2 separate regions of the Homo sapiens genome follow, and region 1 is linked to region 2. Evidence: promoter capture Hi-C in 16 types of primary human blood cells and fetal thymus (Javierre and others, 2016). All regions are on one chromosome and are shown on one strand. The core of a region is centred on a gene start or on the middle of the fragment in contact, and the rest is flanking DNA. Distances in the headings are between cores, read along the strand shown. Region 1 overlaps PCCA (propionyl-CoA carboxylase subunit alpha). Region 2 holds the start of PCCA-AS1 (PCCA antisense RNA 1).

Region 1 (6,233 bases), core at 2,952-5,451, 240 kb before region 2:
AGGCAGAAGATGTATTTCATGTAGTGTTGCTGGGCAGATAGTTATTGAATTAATGTATAAGTGGTTGAATAAGAACATATAGATCAACTGCATTCTTTTTAAAGGCTAATATTTCATTTTATGGATGTACCAGTCCTTTGTTGAAGGCTTACTAAATTGTTTTTCAGAATTTTTTTCTTATTAAAACACCACCAACGAATTCAAAATAATGAATTTCTTTGTATGTCTCTCTGTGTTCACTCATGTGGGTATATCTGTAGGATGACTTCCCAGGAGTAAAATTTCAGAACAAAAGATAACGTGTCCTCAAACTTTTGGTAGATACTGACAATTTCTTTTTAAAAAGATTATCCCATTTTCTATGACACCAGTAATATGAGAAGTATTTAACTTTGTCATCCTGGCCATTATCAGATTTTAATTTGCTAGAGGAAAAGTGAGATCTCATTGTTTTAATTTGTATTTCTGTAATTAGGAGCAAGGCTGAGCACAGATATTGTGCTTCTGGAACTGTTTTTCTGTGAGCTTTTAATTTAATCTTTTGTGATGATTGTTGGTCCTTTTTTTAGTTGATTCAGAGTTTGATTAAAGTTTTTTAAACTTATGATGTTATAGGCAACCTTTACAGTGTGATGTCACTTAGTGCCATTGAATTTGGAGCTATATAGGGCTTTTTATCTCTTCAAAAGTAATTTTGTAGAGCCTGATAATAAAACTTCATGTTCTCAAAGACCATATTGGGGCTGAGTGTATAATATTTAGTAGTTTATTATTGAAACAGTAATAGAGATTTTAATGTCCAGTGCATAATAGGTCCTCAGTAAAGTATTTTTGGATGAATGAGTGACAAGTGAAAAGTTAATTTTTAAGGCAGCTTGATTTTATTTGAAAGTTCATTTAGAAGAATCTAATTTTCATAGTAAGAAGACTTAGCATGCTGTTAAGTTGAAAGATAAGCTTGCTTTGTGGCATGCTATAGAAGTGTTGGATTTGTGGCAGTGGAATTTTTAATTTGCTGTGTCAGATATAGATATGGCTTTATGTATCCATACACACCCAGCTATAACATGTATATTCAAATAAGTGACAAAATATGTCTAATGAATTTTTGAATTACCTTTTAAAACTTGCCTGTTAGTTCTCTCAAGTGATGAACTTTTTACAATAGCAGTTTATTTTCTCTCATCACGTTGGAAAGAAATGTTAAAAGTTTTCTTCTAGGTTTATTATAATCCAGTCTTCATCAGCCATCACTCTTCCTGTATTTTGTTCAAGAGGCACTAATTGTTCGCATTTGGCAGGTTTAACACTTCCTGACAGAGAGGCTATTAAGGGGAAGTATTCTCCAATAACTGTCACTGGCTGGAACAAAGAACCTTCCAACTCAATGTGTGGAAACCACTAACATTCTTAAATGACCCTTTTCATGGATTTTCATCCCTTTAAGCTAAAGTTTGGAGAATGTAGGGTCAGCGAAAACAGCAACGTGTAATAAAGCAGTAAACCTTGATTTTGGAAGGCATAGGGTGGGAGATATAGATTTATCTCTGACTTGAAAACAATTGTTATTTGGAAAATCTCATTAGCAGATGTGACTGCTTGGAGTAAAAAAAAAAAAAAACAACTTAAAACTGATGTCGCTTTCAGGACCCCTTTGAACTTAACAAGCACCTATTTGTGGAGCAGACTGGCTAATGAAAGGAAATTAAATTTTTCTGACAACTTCCCCTGCCAACCTCCTTATTCAGGGGATGTTATTAGGTACTGAAGAACTTTAAAGAAGATTTTTTTTTATTAGACATAAGTGAACCAGTTATAAACATCCCCCCCCGCCCCCTTCTCGGAGGATTCTGACATGGTTGCTCTACATTTTAAACGTATTAGCTTAAAAGCTTAAAAAACACTGGGCTTCACTTCAGCATTTTAGTCATTTTCTAAAAATTCAGTCACACTTACCAGCTGTGGTTTCAAAACAATATTGTCAGTCTTTGTGGTAGTTTAGTTTGTGTCACTGAATTACACAAACACACACACACACACACACACCCCACACATACCCACACACACGAAGGAGGCTTAGATTTCAACATTATCTTTATTGTTATTTGGGGAAATGATTCAGCAGTGTCCTGTGTTGGATGTGTTAGGTGAGGGTTAATGATCAGTGAAATTACTTAGATTCAAGGGAAGTTTTTGTCTTTTCATCTTCTTAGAGGTAGAAGTGGCATTGGTTAATATTTAGCAATAACTAATCCTTAAATGGATAAACTTTTACCCCTTACTGTTTAGGAAGGTATTTTCTTTCTTTTGCTTTTTGGAGTTTTTTCCTCCAGTAGTTGGTTCGTTGAAATTAAAGTTTTTTTTTAATTTATGTAACAAGATACAATTGTAGAGATAAAATATGTACCTGAAAAAAAAAAAAAAGAAAGAAACAATAGAAAAGAAAAGGTAATGCAGATTACCAAAAGGATTTTTTGGAACAATTCGTAATTCCTGTAGGTACTGGAAATTAACTTTCATATTTCTGCAAAATCGATCAACTACTCCCAAACAATAGAGAATCAACTCCCCCTGCTGACAGAATCTAGGAAAACATGACACATAATATTGGACAGAAACAAGCTGGCTGCGGACAAGCTTTAATGACCTGATTTATGATTCAGTATTGATTGTAAACATCTAAATTCTGCCATTAAATTCCGGCAACTGCACCAAATCATTGGCAATTCTGGTAGTGCTTCCTGCCAGCTCATTTCAACTGCTTTGAGTTTCTTAATATAATAATGATGAGGTAGAATTTACATTCCACTTATGGTATTAATTTTACATTTCTCTGAATGAAAAGGGTTAGAAGGTAGTAAAATTGAACATTAAATGAATCGGAGGAGACAGTAGTGCAATATATGACTGCCCTAAAGACATTGTGCAATGCCTCATGGGATTAATGTTGAGTCTCATTTCCTGCTTTTACAGGATGCAGAAGAAGCTGTCAGAATTGCAAGGGAAATTGGTAAGTCCTTAAATTAACTTTGGTAGGATTTCTGTGTCTTTCAGCAGATACGGTTGAGTCAACAGGTAATAAGTAATTCCCATAGAGCAAATAATACTTTAATAGTTTTAGATTTTGATTACTTGTTGCTCTGGAAGAATGTATCAGTTGAATTGCCAAATTCTATTATTAAAGGAGACTGTAAAGAGTAATTTGACCTTAACTATACATAACTCTTTTGTAAGATGAGATCACAGGCTAATTCAAAGAAGGAATTGTCTTAAGAATTCTAAAGATTGGATATAAGTTTAATGTCAATTTATATGTACATAGTTGAATGTGGTTTGTTAAAATTAAGAACATTTGGATTAAAATGAAGATACCATATGTGACATAGTTCTTTAAGTTTTTGCCTTTTGCTAAGATGTTAGGTATCAACTTAATCTTGTTAGATGGGAAAGATAAAATAGATGTGGGAAATTAGAACTGAATGATCTAAATTGGAATAAAAGGTAGACTGGAGGAGTTTTTAATGGCTGTTTTACATGTACTTGTATTTGGGCAGTGTTTCCCAACTTTTTAATTTCTTTTCTTTTTCTTTTCTTTCCTTTTTTTTTTTTAAGATGGAGTTTTGCTGTCATTGCCCAGGCTGGAGTGCAATGGCACGATCTCCGCTCACTGCAACCTCTGCCTTCCAGGTTCAAGCGATTCTCCTGCCTCAGCCTCCCTAGTAGCTGGGATTACAGGTGCCTGCCATCACGCCCAGCTAATTTTTTGTATTTTTAGTAGAGATGGAGTTTCACTATGTTGGCCAGGCTGGTCTCGAACTCCTGACCTCAGGTGATCCACCCGCCTCAGCCTCCCAAAGTGCTGGGATTACAGGCGTGAGCCACCGCCCCTGGCTCGCAACTTTTTAATTTTAAAAATATTCTTGGCGGTCATGAGAACTATTTTTGGTATCTGCTAATTGAGAAAATGTGTAAGGGCATGCTATTATATGGATTAACAATATTGTTAAATAACTTTGCAGGTTTAATAATCAAATCAGTAATTGTATACATTTGACAGAAATTTGTACAGATGAGAGAAATTAGGCAATGCTTGTAGGGATCCCAGCGTCTTCTCAGCATTCCTGTACGCCTCAGTCCAAGCATCTCATCGTGCCACACGAACATTTCTGTAGGCCTGTTTTCTCACTAAGATTATTTAGATCTATTTTCTGCCTCTAGAGAGCATTTGATTTGGCAAAGCTCATATAGTTGTGATATGTAGAAATATCTTATTGGTCTGGAAGTGATCACTTGTACTAGTAAGCGTGTTCTTTGCAAATGGGACAGTCTAACTTAGCAGGTCTTTAGTGACCTGAAAAGCAGTTTGGCTTATTGCACCCTTGTTTGTAGTTGGTACTGTCTAAATTATTTGGGCTTTGCCCATCATTAAGTGTGTTTTGTTGTTTGCTTTGCAAAAATCTATCTTATTGATATAGGTCCTGGATTTAAGACCAGACCATAGAAAATCTTATTTTATCTGACTACCTCATCTCTTCATTTTTTTTTTCAGAATCATTAACATTTCAAAAAGCCTATCAGTACTTCATAGGAACATTTGCTCGACTGCTAAATAAACTGGACTATATAGAACTGATTCTGTGGTTTCTTTATGGAGAAAAATCAAAAGTTTCTGTTCATGGTTTGAAATCACTGGTATTCCTCATTGCCTAAGAGGCATATAATATACCTACTGGCTTTTGAGGATAGTTTTCTAAAATAGTTTAATTCCATCCTGTCAGACATCTTTACATTTAAAAAGCTCTTTTTCTAGTTCTAGGTTAGATATTATTATCAACCTCATTGGATATAATAATACTGTTATTATTATTATTACAGTATCTACATAAAGGACAATATTTAGAGAAATTTAGGGAAATAAAGGGATTAGAAGAAAATTTACAGTTACACTGCAGTGCCACATTTTGAATGGTGAATTTTGGACTTGCGAGCATTCCCTTTGTGTAAATAGCAGGCCGTGGATTGCTTTGCTTCCTTTATGCCTTTTCTTCCACTTTCTTTCTTTCTTTCTTTCTTTTTTTTTTTTTTTGAGACAGACTTTTCACTCTTGTTGCCCAGGTTGGAGTGCAGTGGTGCGATCTCTGCTCACTGCAACTTCTGCCTCCCGGGTTCAGGTGATTCTCCTGCCTTCACCTCCTGAGTAGCTGGGATTGCAGGCACACACCACAATGCCAGCTAATTTTTTTGTATTTTTAGTAGAGACGGGGTTTCACCATACTGGCCAGGCTGGTCTCGAACTCCTGACCTTAGGTGATCTGCCCACCTCAGCCTCCCAAAGTGCCGGGATTACAGGCATAAGCCAGTGCACCTGGCCATTTTCCACTTTCGTTATAACCTGTCACCTTTAAGATAACCAGCTCATCATGATGGGCCTCTGTCTAACTAGTTCTCATCACTTTGCTTTCCTCCCTCAATATTTTAATGCTGTGCTTTACCTCCTTTTCATTTTTTATTTTTTCCTACTGAAGTTACCTAATCTAATCTAAGTCTTTTTTCTTTGTACTTGGGCACATCCTTTATGACTCCTTTCTCTTTCCTGTCCTTCTTCTAATTCTTCCCCAATTACTCTCTCTTGCTTGTGAAATAAATGATAGCAATCATGGCTATTAAGTATAAGAGTACTGGTGTTTTGCTTATACTGAAAGAAAGGGAAACCATAAAATTTGAGGTAAAATAAACCATAAAGAACTAGGGTCATCAGCTCTTACAAAGCTTTTAGAATTTCTCTGAAAATCTCTTCTGAATCACCTCAGAAGCCTCGCATAAAATCTTTTCCTTGAAGTGCTACTTTCTAAAGTAAATTAAATTATGTTTTATTAAAGTCTGTTGGCTTTCTGTGTTGTTTGATATTTCGTAAGTTTTTTACTACTGATTTTATTGAGATATATCACATTTTAACTATGATTATGATTCCATGTGAAAATGTGTTCCTAGTTCTAAACAACTGATTTATAATCAAACCTTTGAACCTATCCATTTGTAAGTTGTTGATTGTCCATGTGTTATACCTATTCATAGAGTTCTCTCTTAATTCTTTCTGTGTTATGTGATGAAAATGAAGTTTATCCTGTTTTATGTGATTTCCTCCTCTCTCATGTCTTTGCTTTTCTTCTGGAAACATTAATCTATGCTGCCAAAGTAGGAAACTCACTGTATTGAGCATTGATGAATTAAGT
Region 2 (5,867 bases), core at 2,042-4,541:
AAAATGATGGGGTGAGCCCTATGAAGCGTGTGTTCTCCTGTGGGCAGTGGCAGAGTTACCCTTCACCCCTGAGTCCTGATTTCTCAGCCTCTTCATGTGACTGTCTCCTTGGCTCCTGGGAAAGAAAGAAGCCTCTACCTTCCCTGGATTGAATGCAGCCCTTCTTGTCCCGTCTGCAGAGCATGAGGAACAGCTGGCCACCTGCACCTGACAAGGCCTGTGGCCGCGGGCAGTACCCAGCCCTGCGCTGACGGCCGCTCCAGGTTGTTGCTGGATGTGGCGAGCTCGAGCTAATCGGGCCTTTTAGGCTTTTGTTTCTTAGCAAATGATCAGCTGTGAACTGCCCTTGGCCTAACTTGGCCTTGTTAGCTCAGAAGCCCGCAATTCATTGCATTTTACCCTGAAGAGGAATGGTAGGTCTGAGGACATATTTATTTTTCTGTGGATTTTTTTTCCCCTTGATCCAGGAAATTGTCTGTCTTCAACAACCTAGTCTTGTCTCCTCCAGAGAAAAGTTTTGAATCCTCTGAGGAGCGGTCTGTCGCCATTGTGGCCTGTGGTCAGTGGGTCAGACCAGAGCCCTGACAACTGTCTCCCTTCCTGGGCCCAAGTGGACACCAGAGGAGTTTGGGGCTCTGGGATCAGCCTGCTCTGGCGAGTGTCCTTTCCCTCCCACTCTGGAACTGTAGCTTCTCAGCCCTCTTCTTGATGCTGGGCGGGTGCCTGGGAGGCCCCACCCCTTCCCTGGGTACCTGGGGAGGTCCCCGACTGAGAGGTGGGAAGACCTGTGTCCCCTCCCCCAGCACACTCTCAGCCTCTGACTTAGTTCTCATAGGAGGAGGCAACAGCTTCCAGGAGCTGCTGCTGTTACCCTCGACGCCATGATGAGGAGGAAATTGCCTGGTCAGGAGGGCTCGCCTGCCTCTTCACAGCCAGGCGTACTGTAGCGGCCTCAGGAGCGGTCACCCTGGGAGTGACTCCTCACCTCCTAAGCAGCCCTGGGGCATGAACACTCGTCCTGGAAATCCTGCTAGGCTGGCTTAAGGGAGTTGCTTCTAGCATGCCTTTCTGGATAAGCCTAGTAGAATTGCTTTTTCTACTATAAAAAGGAAAGAATGGGGCTCCTCATATTATAGTAACAGAATTCTTGGTACTAGAACTGGTAAGCCAAGAGAAATGGAAGCTGACCAACTTTTCTCTCTGCACAGGGTTCAGAGGGATAGAAACACACAATTTGACTCTGCATGCACCAGAACCTTCTCACTCAGGGTAAGGGACAGCCACAGTTTCTGGGACGTTACCTAAAAACACAATAATCCCACTTATTCTCTGACAGATAATCATCAGTCATAGCCCCACTACTCACTTTTATTAAAGAAATAGCTGGGCCCTTTTAGGTAAAGCCCTTTATATACTGGGAAAAAAGGTCATGTTATCCATTCCTCAAATCCCAGGTAAACTCCTGCTGGTTACTCAAAAATAAAAACCAAAATGAAAGCCCATTCATCACAGGGATGCCTAATCTTGTAATGAGGGAATCACTGAGTGTGGCACAGGGAAGACTCCTGAGAGATTCTGATGGGGTACAAGTGTGCTGACCAACGTCCTAGATACAGTGGGCCCTTGAACAATATGGGGGCTAGGGATATCAACCCTGTGCAGTCAGAAATCTACGGATACCTTCTGACTCTCCCAGAATGTAACTGCTAGTAGCCTACTGCTGACCAGAAGTCCTACCAATAACATACAGTCATTTAGCACGTATTTGGTATGTTACATGATTATATACTGTATTCCTGCAATAAAGTAAGCTAGAGAAAGTGTTAGGAAAATCATAACGACAAAATATATTTATTATTCATTAAGTGGAAGTGGATCATCTTAAAGATCTTGATCTTCATTGTCTTCACGTTGAGTTGGCTGAGGAGGAGGGGGCTTGATCTTGCTGTCTCAAGAGCAGCGGAGTCATAAGAAAATGCACATTTAAGTGGCCCCATGCAGTTCAAATCCATGTTGCTCAAGGCTCAACTGTACACCGAACTGAAAAATGATTCCATTTTTAGTAGGAAATGGCCTACTCTAAGTCCTACTGCTTCCCTTTGCACTTGATGGCAAGGGTCTTTAACTGTGTCAGTGGAGCTGGTTTGGCTCCACTGATAGAGACTCCCTGACCATCTGATAGGCCACTTTTGTTAGAGGAGAAGGTACCCCCTTGCCTACCTGTTCTTTTCTTACTTCATGGGTCTTGATTCCTGACTCAGGAGCACCCATTACAGAAAAGCCCTGGGACTAGATCTAATTTTATTTAATGAAAAACCTATGGAGCATTTACTCTTGCTTCTAATAAATTAACAAGTCAGGGCTTTCTTCTGAATAGGAGGGTCTCTTGACTCTTTGATATTTGACTTTTGAACCAGACTAGATGAGGCAGAGCTTCAGCACATATTTTACCAGTGTCTTCAGCAAATGCCTTTCTCTTTGCAAAGCTCCATATTACTACCAAAAATTAACCCAACTAAATTGTAATTTCTACTCACCCACATTTATTGAGTACTGTGTTTCCTTGAAAGATCTCAAACAAGGCACCTTCTTGCAAGATCTTCACCACCAGACCTTCATGATAGTCACCTCCTCATTAGGCTGAGACGCATACACAGTGATTACGTTCAGACACAGGGACTCCTGTGTCTTAAGACCTTGTGTGACCCTTGTAATTAAAGCATTACACTTTGCAAAGGCTGACAGTGGTATAGGGGCTGTCTGAAACTATTCAGCCATAGCCTGGTCTCTGCTTTCTTTTTACAAATGGGAGGTTGGCTAAGGCAGACACAGGGATGGCTAAGAGGGATAAAGGACGTGACTTCCATAGAACCTTTTGTTCCTAGAGGAACCTCTCCATGAAACACACAGTGAAACTAGATTAAACCAAAAAACGCCCTCAGCTCCAGCAGATCCTGAGCTACAAAGCACCTCTTCCCTACCGAGCCTTCTCACCCATGCGCACTGAGTTTCTGAGTATCAGAAAGTCAGGTTTCTGAATCCCTAGAGAAAGTAAAAATTTCCTTGGACACAATGGGTTTTCTTTGCTTCCTGCATGACAGTCACGAAGGGGAATCTGAAATAGAGAACTTGAATATGCGGCTTGCTGAAGGGAAGTGTACTGTACAGTAGCCCCCCTTCTCCACGGGGGATCCATGTCAAAATCCCCAGGGGATGCCTAAGACTGCGGATGGGACCGAACCCTGTATACGCTTGCCTTTAATGCCTTTTCCATTTCAGCTCGGCACTTAGCCCACACTGTGGCTGTAACTTTTGTAGTTTTAGGTACAGCAGCAAAACTAGCACAAATTTCTTTGTCCTTTTTCACAATTTCATGGATAGAAGATTGATTCTTACTGTAGATCTTAGCAATCTCAGCATACTTTTTTTTTTCTTGAGAACTTTCACCTTTTAACTAAAGGAAGGACTTCATGGCTGGTTTTTGGCATATCCAGATTGCCAGCATCATACTCTTGGAACTTTGAGGCCATTGTGAAGTCAAATAATAGTTCCTGCCAGGCACAGTGGCTCACACCTGTAATCCCAGCATTTTGGGAGTCCAAGGCAGGTGGATCACTTGAGCTCGGGAGTTTGAGACTAGCCTGGGCAACATGGCAAAACTCTGCCTCTACAAAAAACACAAAAATTCACCGGTCACGGTGGCACATACCTGTAGTCCCAGCTACTCGGCAGGCTGAGGTGGGAGCATGGCTTAAGCCCAGGAGGTGGAGGTTACAGCGAGCCAAGATCATGCCACTGCACTCCAGCCTGGGCGACAGAGCCAGCCTCTGTCTCAAAAATAAAAAAGGAACCTAAGCACTGAGACCCCCTGACAGTAGATCTGGTAACTGAGATGGCCACTAAGTGACTGGTTGGTGGTGGGGGTGTCTACAGCGTGGAGATGCTGGACCCCGAGAGAGAGGGTTTATGACCCAGGCAGGATGGAGCAGGACAGCACAAGATCTCCTCACACTACTCAGAATGACTCACAATTTAAAACTTATACATTGTTTATTTCTGGAATTTTCCATATAATGTTTCTGGACCATGGTTGACCACAGGTAAATGAAACCTTGGAAAGCTAAAACCTTGGATAAGGGGGGACTACTGTAATATAAAGTTTACAGTTCCTGGGGTGAAAGCTCAGGCAGACCCTATCTATGCATTATTACAACGTACCATCAATTCAAAACCATAAATTTGCAGAAACATCGTTGCTTTAATTCCTAAAATATTGAATATGAATAATAAAAATAATATATGCTTTGTCTTAGAAGCACCTTTTTAATATGATTGATGTGTATTGATCTGTTTCTTCATTCTAACATGAACATTTCTGTAACAGTCATTTCCCCTGAAATATCTAACCTGTGGGTACCTGAGACAGCTTGTCAGTTAGGAAGAACAGTGGTGGCGATAGCCACGTAGGGCTGGTTTGGTCGTGAGTGCAAGTGTGGTTGCAGCAGCTAGAGCAGAGGACTGTGTGGAGAACATGGGTCAGGTCAGAAGGCAGTAGCCAGGAGGGATGCAGAGTCGAGAGAGAATTTGTTGATTGGAATGACTCAGGTTGACTTTCAGGATGAAGAGAAGGGGCCAATAGAGAGGGAAGAGAGGACAGTTGATGAGGCAGGCTCCAAGAGAGGAGGGCAAAGCGAGATCAGGGGCTCCAGTGAAATGCCTGAGTGTGATGAGAAGAGCGCTGTCTTGTGAGGCTAGAGAGGGAACCAAGGATGGGTGGGCCTGGGAAGGCTGGAGAGGTAGCCTGTCAGGGAGCTGCTAACCCACTTAGAAATACTCTTATTGACATAACAAGGTTTTTTGTTTTGGTTTTTTGTTTGTTTGTTTTGAGAGAGCGTTCGCTCGTTCCCCAAGCTGAAATGCAATGGTGCAGTCTCAGCTCACTGAAACCTCCACCTCCTGGGTTCAAGCGATTCTCCTGCCTCAGCCTCCCGAGTTGCTGGGATTACAGGTGCATGCCACGGGTGCAGTGGCTCACGCCTGTAATCCCAGCACTTTGGGAGGTCGGGGCGGGCGGATCATTTGAGGTCAGGAGTTCAAGACCAGCCTGGCTAACATGGATATAACAAAATTTTCTATTTCAAAAGTTCAGTCGTGGGCACAAGTTGATTTTGCCTTACAGTCTTGATAGTGAAGGTGCATACTATTTTTAAAGCTGTATTCCTTAGATACTACCATATTATCTAATGTTTCTAATAATGGAATTAGCAAAAAATGACTACATCATCCAAATTTGACTTTGTACTAACATACTTGGCGTACTCCATATCCCTGAAGGTTAACAAGAGATAAATTTGGCCTAGACTGGTCTTTTCCTGAATTCATCACTTAAAAAAGGAAAAAAAGAATGGGGAGGAAAAGCCACGTTTTACTTTTATAATTTTTATTCCATCATTAAAAGTACAACTTGCTTTATGATCTGAAGAAATACCATCTAAGTCTTTCTATTAGGAACAAAAGTGAGCCTTTCAGGGAAAAAAAAAAAAGGAGCTGGGCTTAATCTGCATTAGCCCTTTGATGTATTCCCAGATTTTAAAAAGCTTCCCACTGTTCTCAGCCACGTTGAAACAGACCCAGCCATGTGTCCGGCGCTGTCCTTTTCTCCTCTCAGCACACACTTAGCCGGAGACACCTTTTGGCCAATGGGCCAGGATTCTTCCATTGCATCTTCAGCATGTGACCGTTTGTGCTGGCTCATTGGGAGTTCTGCTGCTCAGTACTCCTTCCCCAGGCAAAGACTCTTAAGTTAATAATTGGTTCAGAAGAATAAACTATACCGCCCTCTTGGTCTTCTTTTGGACATTTCTTTA

What was found. The method cuts DNA at HindIII sites, captures the fragments that hold promoters and counts their contacts. A CHiCAGO score of 5 or more calls a contact.
Region 1: a contact is called between a fragment that was not itself captured here and the fragment with the promoter of PCCA-AS1 in region 2, in 2 of 17 cell types (M2 macrophages and M0 macrophages). The highest score is 6.0, in M2 macrophages.

Annotation. Positions count from the first base shown.
Region 1 is chr13:100,232,869-100,239,101 of GRCh38, forward strand. It overlaps PCCA (propionyl-CoA carboxylase subunit alpha), which reads left to right. Exons shown (of 24, transcript NM_000282.4): 8 at 2,974-3,010. Among named protein-coding and RNA genes, the nearest start is that of PCCA, 150 kb to the left of the region's middle. The HindIII fragment of the contact is 3,132 bases long and covers 2,636-5,767 here.
Region 2 is chr13:100,477,724-100,483,590 of GRCh38, forward strand. It overlaps PCCA-AS1 (PCCA antisense RNA 1), which reads right to left and starts at 3,292. Exons shown (of 5, transcript NR_047686.1): 1 at 3,257-3,292. The region is part of intron 21 of PCCA (propionyl-CoA carboxylase subunit alpha); the gene reads left to right. It overlaps LOC107984574 (a long non-coding RNA gene), which reads right to left and starts at 3,484. Exons shown (of 3, transcript XR_007063850.1): 1 at 3,397-3,484; 2 at 2,538-2,707; 3 at 1,824-2,040. The HindIII fragment of the contact is 6,979 bases long and covers 1-5,595 here.